Linked DNA regions of Homo sapiens: region 2 is linked to region 1. The links are contacts of gene promoters, found by promoter capture Hi-C in human tissues and cell types (Jung and others, 2019). All regions are on one chromosome and are shown on one strand. Each heading gives the region's core, a stretch centred on a gene start or on the middle of the fragment in contact. The rest is flanking DNA. Distances are from core to core; before and after follow the strand shown.

Evidence for each region. The method cuts DNA at HindIII sites, captures the fragments that hold promoters and counts their contacts. A contact is called where the count stands out against the background at its distance.
Region 2: the fragment with the promoter of AIFM3 here is called in contact with the fragment with the promoter of YDJC in region 1 in 2 of the 25 tissues and cell types used here (lymphoblastoid cells and mesenchymal stem cells).

The regions. Positions count from the first base shown.
Region 1 is chr22:21,627,246-21,631,830 of GRCh38, reverse strand. It overlaps YDJC (YdjC chitooligosaccharide deacetylase homolog), which reads left to right and starts at 1,809. Exons shown (of 5, transcript NM_001017964.2): 1 at 1,809-1,980; 2 at 2,070-2,229; 3 at 2,424-2,523; 4 at 2,644-2,821; 5 at 3,044-3,742. The coding sequence starts at 1,817. The coding sequence ends at 3,413. RefSeq lists silencers at 1,583-1,862, 2,773-2,862 and an enhancer at 3,368-3,975. The HindIII fragment of the contact is 8,887 bases long and covers 1-4,585 here.
Region 2 is chr22:20,964,454-20,969,038 of GRCh38, reverse strand. It overlaps AIFM3 (AIF family member 3), which reads right to left and starts at 1,784. Exons shown (of 21, transcript NM_001386814.1): 1 at 1,736-1,784; 2 at 1,064-1,234. The coding sequence starts at 1,094. LINC01637 (long intergenic non-protein coding RNA 1637) reads right to left here. Exons shown (of 2, transcript NR_110537.1): 2 at 4,359-4,585. The HindIII fragment of the contact is 23,315 bases long and covers 1-4,585 here.

The sequences.
Region 1 (4,585 bases), core at 560-3,059:
CTGAGCCACCGCGCCCAGCGGAGCCTTGTATATTCTTACCTCCTCTCCCTCCCTCCTTTTCCCCTTTGCTCAGTAATACCCCACCATGGTGTCACTTCTTCCAAAAACCTTTTACTGTGAATTCTGCCACGCCCTACGCAATTCACAGTAAACCCCATTCCAGACTCTACCATACCATGTTGCTACTTATTTTTCTATCAGATGGTGCTTCTTTGGGGCCAGAACAGAGGCAAGTCACCCTTAATCTCTAATACTTTCAGTGTCTGGCACCAAGTAGGTGCTCAATAAATGTCAGTCTCCTCCTTCCCACCTGCAGACCCTCGGGACCTCTGACCTTTCCAAGATCAGCTTCCAGTGGAGAACGGTGGTTGGTTGAGGTCTGACAATTCACCAGTCACTATAAACACATCAGTCCTTATGCCAAGAGCATGGCTGAAGGACTCTATGAGGCTTTCAATCCTCACATGCCTCACGAAATATTGTTCCTCTCAAGCTCTGCTCTGTCCTCTCAGCTCTGGCTACCCACTAGGTCAGGGACAGAGAGGACATAGCAGGCCTGGGTGCTGGCCCCGAGGTGTGAGGTTCAGTCTTAGCTCCACTACTCCTGGCAGGACCACACTTTCGCTCTCTGAACCCCAGTTTCCTCATCTGTGAAACAGGAATGACATTACCAATTTCATAGCCCGGACACAAATACCACACTTTCCATGGGAAAAATCAAGACTGTCACATTGCAATGGAAACTGTGGCTGCCAACCATAATGACTATTTATACAGTCATGGGTAAGGAAAGCTTTTCTGGACCAAAGAGAAAACAGTGAAGTTATGAATGTAAAAGCTGTAGCCTGGCAGAGAGCTCAAGATGGAAACTGGAGATAATGTTTTCTCAAATGAAGCCTTAGTGTATATGCTTTCTTTCATTTTCTTAGTGTCTAGAGCTCAAGAAAAAAAAAAAATCAACAAATCAAGAAAATGCCTGCTCTTAGAAAAATCTGCAAAAGATCAATAGGCAATTTGAAAAAGAATAAAAATAGCTAATAATATGAAAATTTTCATTCGCACTGCTAAGAAACTACTAGAATGTGATAACATTGATATAATCATCTTTATGTTCTCAAAACAACACACAAAAAAGTTGGGTTGGGGAGAAAGGGAGTTGGGTGTGTTTATTTGCTTAGAGAAAACACTGGAAGGACACAACCCAGAAAGTTTACAATGGCAATCTCTGGGAAGGGTAGGAGATTCTTTTTTTTTTTTTTTTTTTTTTTTGAGACGGAGTCTCGCTCTATCGCCCAGGCTAGAGTGCAGTGGTGCGATCTCGGCTCACCACAACCTCCGCCTCCCGGGTTCAAGCCACGCTCCTGCCTCAGCCTCCCGAGTAGCTGGGATTACAGGCGCGTGCCACCACTCCCGGCTAATTTTTGTATTTTTAATAGAGACGGGGTTTCCCCATGTTGGCCAGGCTGGCCTTGAACTCCTGACCTCGTGATCCACCCGCCTCGGCCTCCCAAAGTGTTGGGATTACAGGCGTGAGCCACTGCGCCCGGCTTCCTTTTGATATTTTACATATTAAATATCACTTTTGCAGTCAAGGAAAGTTCCGCATTGCAATGAATCCATCACTGGTCTGGTTAGCGCGGGAGCAGTTGCCGGGTCCTTGCAGGGGCACGCCGGACCGCTAGGTGGCGAGAACAAAGGCGAAGTGCAGCCGCACCTGGGCGTGTGCGTCGGGGCGGGGCCCGGGCAGCGTCCGGGGGCGGGGCCTGGGCTGTCCGGCCCACTCCCCTGGGAGCGCGAGCGGTGGACCCAGGCGGCCATGTCCCGCCCTCGCATGCGCCTGGTGGTCACCGCGGACGACTTTGGTTACTGCCCGCGACGCGATGAGGGTATCGTGGAGGCCTTTCTGGCCGGGGCTGTGACCAGCGTGTCCCTGCTGGTCAACGGTGCGGCCACGGAGAGCGCGGCGGAGCTGGCCCGCAGGTGAGGGGAGGGCCTCTAGCAGGGCGGCGATCGGCTTGGGGCGCGCGGCTCCGCGGCCGCTAGTGCTCCAGCTCGCGCTCCGCCCTCAGGCACAGCATCCCCACGGGCCTCCACGCCAACCTGTCCGAGGGCCGCCCCGTGGGTCCGGCCCGCCGTGGCGCCTCATCGCTGCTCGGCCCGGAAGGCTTCTTCCTTGGCAAGATGGGATTCCGGGAGGCGGTGGCGGCCGGAGACGTGGATTTGCCTCAGGTGCGGAGCCGCAGCTACAGGAGGATGCTCGCGAGGACCCCCAGAGCTCCGCCCGGAGGGTACTGTGAGGCCGTTAGGAGCTGGCGGTGGATGACTTCCGCATTCAAACACTGGAGCCATCACACGGAAGCACGAGGAGGGTATCCTCGGCAGCTACTCCCGGTCGCTCAAGGTGTCTCTCGCTCGCCCTCTAGGTGCGGGAGGAGCTCGAGGCCCAACTAAGCTGCTTCCGGGAGCTGCTGGGCAGGGCCCCCACGCACGCGGACGGGCACCAGCACGTGCACGTGCTCCCAGGTGCGTGGTTAGTGATCCCAGTTTGGAGGGCGTTACTCCCAGGCGGGGCTGGGGGAGTAGGGGAAGTTCGATGCCCCCAGGTGAAAGGACGTGCTCCTCCCTGACCCGCTCCGCCCGCAGGCGTGTGCCAGGTGTTCGCCGAGGCGCTGCAGGCCTATGGGGTGCGCTTTACGCGACTGCCGCTGGAGCGCGGTGTGGGTGGCTGCACTTGGCTGGAGGCCCCCGCGCGTGCCTTCGCCTGCGCCGTGGAGCGCGACGCCCGGGCCGCCGTGGGCCCCTTCTCCCGCCACGGCCTGCGGTGAGGCTCCCCGCCCCGTCTCCTACCATAGCTGCCTCTGTCCCTCCGCACTGGCTGTTCACCTGGCTAGCTGTGTCCGTTTCTCAACCCGGAAGCGAGTCTGGCGTCGACCGCTGCCGCCACCCCAGTTACCCCCTCCCACCCCGCCGTCCCTTCCCTAGCCTACCTAGCCCTTGGCCATGGCCCGGCCTGGTCCCACCTCTGATGTCCCGCCCCCCACAGGTGGACAGACGCCTTCGTGGGCCTGAGCACTTGCGGCCGGCACATGTCCGCTCACCGCGTGTCCGGGGCCCTGGCGCGGGTCCTGGAAGGTACCCTAGCGGGCCACACCCTGACAGCCGAGCTGATGGCGCACCCCGGCTACCCCAGTGTGCCTCCCACCGGCGGCTGCGGTGAAGGCCCCGACGCTTTCTCTTGCTCTTGGGAGCGGCTGCATGAGCTGCGCGTCCTCACCGCGCCCACGCTGCGGGCCCAGCTTGCCCAGGATGGCGTGCAGCTTTGCGCCCTCGACGACCTGGACTCCAAGAGGCCAGGGGAGGAGGTCCCCTGTGAGCCCACTCTGGAACCCTTCCTGGAACCCTCCCTACTCTGACCCCCTACAGACAACCAAGCACTAATCCCCTTAGTACCAAGAAAGGGGAGCCAGGATTTAGTCCTGGCCCAGCCCAGAGCTGGGACCTGGAGCACGATCTGTTGACTTCCCTGGGTAGGACACTGCCACCTCTGGGCTCAGGTCCTCATGCCTCCAAATGGCATCTAGAGTTTGAGCAGCCTTCTTGGCTGCAGGCAGGCCTAGCCTGTGGCAGCGGGCTAGGGCCCGCAGAGCATTTGGTGCCCCTCCATGTTGCAATGCAAACACCTTCACCACTGGGGCAGTGGGGAGAGATGGCTATATTAATAAAATAACGTGTGTCTTTCAAACTTGGGTGGTTTATCAGCTGTGCCCAGGAGACCCTCAGAGAAACAAGCACGGACAAAGAGCAGCTCCCTCTTGGCTCAAACCACTCCAGGAAATGGCCCATTCTCCATTCTGGTTTTGTTCATGCTGCAATTTTCTTTATTCCTTTTTAGGGTGGGAGTGGGAGATTGTCCTCACCAGGCTGCTTTGGAAGAGGCATAATACTATAATCTCAGTATTGATTTAAGAAGTCACCTGTAGGCTGAGTGTGGTGGCTCACACCTGTAATCCCAGCACTTTGGGAGGCCGAGGCGGGCAGATCACCTGAGGTCAGGAGTGCGAGACCAGTCTGACCAACATGGAGAAACCCCATCTCTACTAAAAATACAAAATTAGCTGGGCATTGGTGGTGCATGTCTGTAATCCCAGCTACTGGAGAGGCTGAGGCAGGAGAATCGCTTGAACCCGGGAGGCGGAGGTTGTGGTGAGCCGAGGTCGCGCCCCTGCACTCCAGCCTGGGTAACGAGCGAAATTCCATCTCAAAAACAAAAGTCATCTGTTTAGATGTAAGCCATTCTACGGGATAGGCGTGAGGAGACCCTGCAACCCTGTGGGAATACATTTAAATTTTTCTAGGAGGAGCAGTCTTCCCGGGAAATGGGATACCATGGTTCCTAACTTCTGGCAATGTAGGGATGCCCTGTGGACTGGGGCCGCATGTGGCTTAGCTGAAAGCTCCTGAGGTGCAGGAGCAGATGGGGAAGGCAGTGCGAGTCCTCTAGAGCACAGAGTCCTTCTGCACCACTCCGCAGGATGGAAAGGCAGATGGAATACCATGTGGTCCTTGTCTCATTTCATGAAATAGC
Region 2 (4,585 bases), core at 535-3,034, 660 kb after region 1:
CCAGGCCTAGGTGTCCACAGCACAGGAGCGGGGGAGGAAGAGTGGCTTCTTGGAGCAGAGGCAAGTGGGTCCCTCTGCCTGGTGGGTCATCACAGCCCTCCTCCCTCGCCCAAGTTCTCCCTTAGACCCAGGAAAGGGAGAAAAGCCTCACAAGTTCCAAGGTAACGGAGCTGATGGGTATCAGGTAAGGGGAGCTGGGGTGAGCTGGCTGGGGTGAGCTGGCTGGGGTGAGCTGGCTGGGGCAGCGTGGCCTGGCAGGTTGAGTGGAGCACTGGCTGCGCTCTTGAGGTCTCTCTAAGCCTCAGTTTCTCCACCTGTGACAAAGCTGCACACTCCTGCCTCCCCAGGTGTTGTGAGGAGAGAAGAGGGAAAGTGGGGGGCCAGAGGGAGAGCTCCGCAGACATGAGTCTTTAGTGGAGAAAAGACCCAGGCCTCCCCTAGCACCCCAGGACACTCCCACTTCTGGCTGGAGTAGCTCAGGCTAGGTTGGATGGTGATTTCCTGTATAAATGGGGAAGTGTGCCCAGAAAGGCCAAGAAGGCAGCCCGAGACCACACAGGGGATCAGAGGAGGCAAAGAGAGCCAGGATCTGCCCACTACACCCTCACAGCAACTCTAAGAGGTCAGGGTGGCCAGGCCCTCTCTTTTGCAGAGAGAAAAACAGAGGCTCAGAGGGGTAACTTGCATGCCCTAGGTCACAGAGTGGCTGAGCGTGTCCCCAGCTCCCCCCTTCCCTGGCCCTGGGGGCATAGCCCCTTCCCCAACCCTGCAACAGGAGGAACCCTGACTTTCCTTTTCCAAGAAGGGTCCTGCTGTTATTCCCACCACCAACACTCAAAGCCCCAAAGAAAAAGGGGCACCCACTGGAGCAGGGGCCAGCTGGGGGAACTGCTCCAGGCCCCCTACCCCCTCCTGGCGGCAGCGTATTAACATTCCGAGCGGGTTCTTGGATAGCCTGACCTACTTCGGAGGCCTACCGAGTGCAGAGGGGGAGGGGGGGGAGACGGGGGAGGAGGAGGCGGGGAGGGAGGAGAAAGGATGGAGACAAGAAGACAGGAGGTACCTGGTTTGGGTTTGGAGAAGCAGCCGCCCATGGCGAGTGGCCTGAGGATGGCCGGCAGGCAGGAGCACAGATGGGGAGCTGTCGGAGGCCTAGGGCGCCCCCCATGGGGCTGGACCCCCTGCAGGCCTTAGAGACGCTGGAGCCGCCATCCTGCTGGAGCTGCTCTAGGACCTGCAGGGGAGACTGGAGCCATCAGGACCGGGGCGTGTGGGCAGGTAGAGACACAGAGGGACGGAGAGAGACAGTGGGAGCTTCGGAAAGAGTCTTACATTTGAGCTGGGAACCATGGCGTGAGCCTGATCCCAGAGCGTGGGGCCCTGGAGGTCACCTCCCCTTTGAAGCCCTCCAAGCTCAGCTCCCTCACTCCTCCAGTGGAGTTCCTCTGCCCGAACCTCGGCCGCCCATCGTCCAGCCCCGCGGCTGCCTTGCCCAGGAAATCCTCCCTGATTTCTACTGCCTCCTCGTGCCCCCCTTCCCCTCTCCAAATCCCACAGCCTGAGAGCTCTGGGACCCTCCATTCTCCCGGGAGACCACTATGCCTAGGCTCAAAGAGGGGGTCACCTTGGGGAAGCCAAAGCCCTTCTCATCCTTGGTCTTCTCCCTCCTACAATGGGGGTGACATCAGGCTCCCCCTAGCCCAGCCCCACCCTGGCTAGCACTCCGGACACCCACCTCCTCGCAGGGCAGCCACTGCTCCGTGTTCCAGGCCCAGCAGTGGACTGAGGCTGCCGGGCCTTGGAAGGCCGGGCAGGGAGGGCAGGGGTCCAGGAGGCGGCCCAGCCTCCACCCTCCTCCCAGCTCAAGCTGTGGCCAGGAGGGGCTGGGGGGCGGTGTGGGGCTGGGCCAGTCCACTGGTCCCCAGGGAAACCCTGCTCTGTGGTGAACAGAAGTGGGCGGCCAGCCCGGGCCTGATGGGGTTAGGGGAAAGGGAAGCCAGGCACACAGCCCTGCCACGCCTGTGCCCAGCAGCCATAAGCTCCCCCTACCCCCGACTCCAGCCCTTCACAAACGCCCACCAGGCCTGTGGGCAGTCATGCCCAACAGCATATGGGGAAAGCAAGGGGTCAAGGTCCCATCAAGGTCAAGCAGCAGGGGCATCCCTGTGGCCTCCCACCCCACCCTCCCACCTTGATCAGTTTTAAGGTGGGCAGGGGCCCAGAAAGCCCCCATATCACCCTAAGGCCCTGCAAGGTGCCCTGGGGGAGGGGACACCTGCACAGCAGAGAGATCACTGTAGCCAGGTGCCTTCCAGGCTACAGGGTGGGCCTTCCGGAAGATGCAGCCTACAGGTGGACTTTGGAAGGCCCAGGGCACAGGCATAAGCTGCCTTGTTTGCAAATGACCTCCCCACAGTCCATCCCACTGCCATCCTCCAGTTTCCTCTGGAAGTTCTTCCTGAAGTCTCACTTGAGGTGGGGCTGAGACCCACCTGGTCTGGTCCAGATACCAGGAAGGGCCGTGGGTGGGTGCCTGAGAGCAAGGGGTGGAAACAAAAGGCCAGGTTGGAGAGGGACCCTTGGTGCCTGGCCCCTGCGCCTGTCGGTCCTCGAGGTGCCCATTACAGGGGAGGAGGCGGTGGCTCCCACAGCCACTGGGGCGTGCCTTGGCTCTTTCCCCCACTTGTCATCAAAGAAGGTCTGTAAAACTCAACTGCCACCTGCCCCACCTGCCCCTTCCCTGGGCACTAGGCTGTCCCTTCCTGGGTCCTGGTTTCAGCCCTGGTTCAGCCCTGCCCGCTTCCTTCCTGGCTGACCTCAGGCCTCACCTGATGGGCCACAGATCCCAGAAAAGGTCAGACCTGGTCTTGCCACTGGGGACCTGCCCAGGCTGTGCTGTCCCTTCCCGAGTACCCAGGGACCTGAATCCCCCAGGGCCTGGGCCAGGAAGGAGACTGGGTGGGGCCCCTGTGCCTTCGGCCTACTGTGTGCTAGATCGGCTTGGAGCCCAGTCACCCCACTCAAAGGCAAAGGTCCTTGCCAGGGGCAGGGCAGGAGGGACCCCCAGAGTGCAGAGCGCCCGAGTGCTATTCCTTGCCCATGAGCTGCCCACTGCAGAAAAGTTCTAGCAGAGCCCAGTGCTAACCACCCAGCAGGAGTCTGTGTCTGTCCCAGGGACCCCAGGACCTGTGAGGCGGGACTGGATTACTCCCATCTCACAGAGCGGCCCCTGCTCCACCTGACCCTCCCAGGGCTCCTGGCGCCCCCAGGGTGCAGGCTGGGCAGGGTCCTCTCCCCACTCCTCCACCTCTCGCCACCTGCCCCCACTGCCTCATCCCAAGGGCTCCTGCCCAGATCGGACTCCCAGTGGCTTCCAGGCGTCCTAGGGGTGGCATCTGATCCCAGTCCTGCCTTCGAGTGTGGGGGCTCCGCGCTCTCCCCTCCCCCACGGAGCTCAGGGCAAGCCTCTGTCCACTCTCCCCGCCTCTGCACGTGCAGTTCCCTCTCTCTGGGAAGCCGATGCCAGCAGCCTCGCCGGCTCCGTCCCGTTGCCCCCGCCAGACCTTGCAGCCCGAGAAGGGGGACTGGCACACAGTGGGGCCCCGCGGCGAGCCGGGAAGGGGCCGTTGTGGGACGAGAGAAGGACGAGGTGAGCTTCGGACCCCGGCCAGTGCCTCTGGCCCCGCTTGCCAACCCCCAGCCCCTAACGTGCCGGGCCGGGGTCCGAGACTTGGGAGCGCAAGCGCTGGCCCCCGGCGCCGGGGCGAAGAGGCGGGGCGGCGGGCGGGGACCGGGGTTCCGGGGACCAGGGTCCCCGGGGCGGGCGCTCACCTGGGCTCGGCGCGGGCCTGGGCTCGGGAACCGCTTGGGGCCGCGGGCGCGGGGGGGCGGGGAGGCGCGGGCGGGGCGTGTCTGGCGCTGCGTTTGCACTGCGGCCGGGGAGCCCGCGGGCCCAGCACCGCCCCGCCGGGCCGGAGCAGGTGGGGGGCGGCCGGGGGACAGGGGCAGGCCGAGGCCCTCGGCGTCCGGACCGGAGTCGCGGGGCGTAGGGAGGCAGCCAGGGGCCGCTCTGGCCGGGGGCGCCCCGGGCCCGAGTCTGGGTCTCCGGGGATCCTCGCGACCTCCCAGGGATGCCCAGCTGGGGCGCGGGCAGGGTCTTTTTTCCTTTTCTTTCTTTCCAAAGTCTCAGAACCATCTGTGGGCGGGGTGGGGGAACTTGAATCACTCTGAGAAACCTCCACAAGAAAGAAAACCCCAATCAAACCTTGCTGCCCACAGCTCCCTTCACTGGTTGGGGGAGTTCAGGTTCCCCGGTGTCCTAGGTTCCTCCCGGCCCTCTCTCCACACATACCAGGGTCTGTTTTCAATTATATTTTATTACATTTTCTTTTTCTCACCTGTCATTTACCAGAACTCCTTGGGTCTCCAGAAATCACAGTGCACCCTGATGTTGTGCCTCCTCCTCCAGGAGGCCCTCCCTGATCAGCCTCCCCTCTATTAGGGCTGATTATTCTGGTTCCTAACACTTGGGTGTTTCATTGTCCTTAATGTGTGCATCTCTGCGTTGTAGGTAGACCTTGTCTTT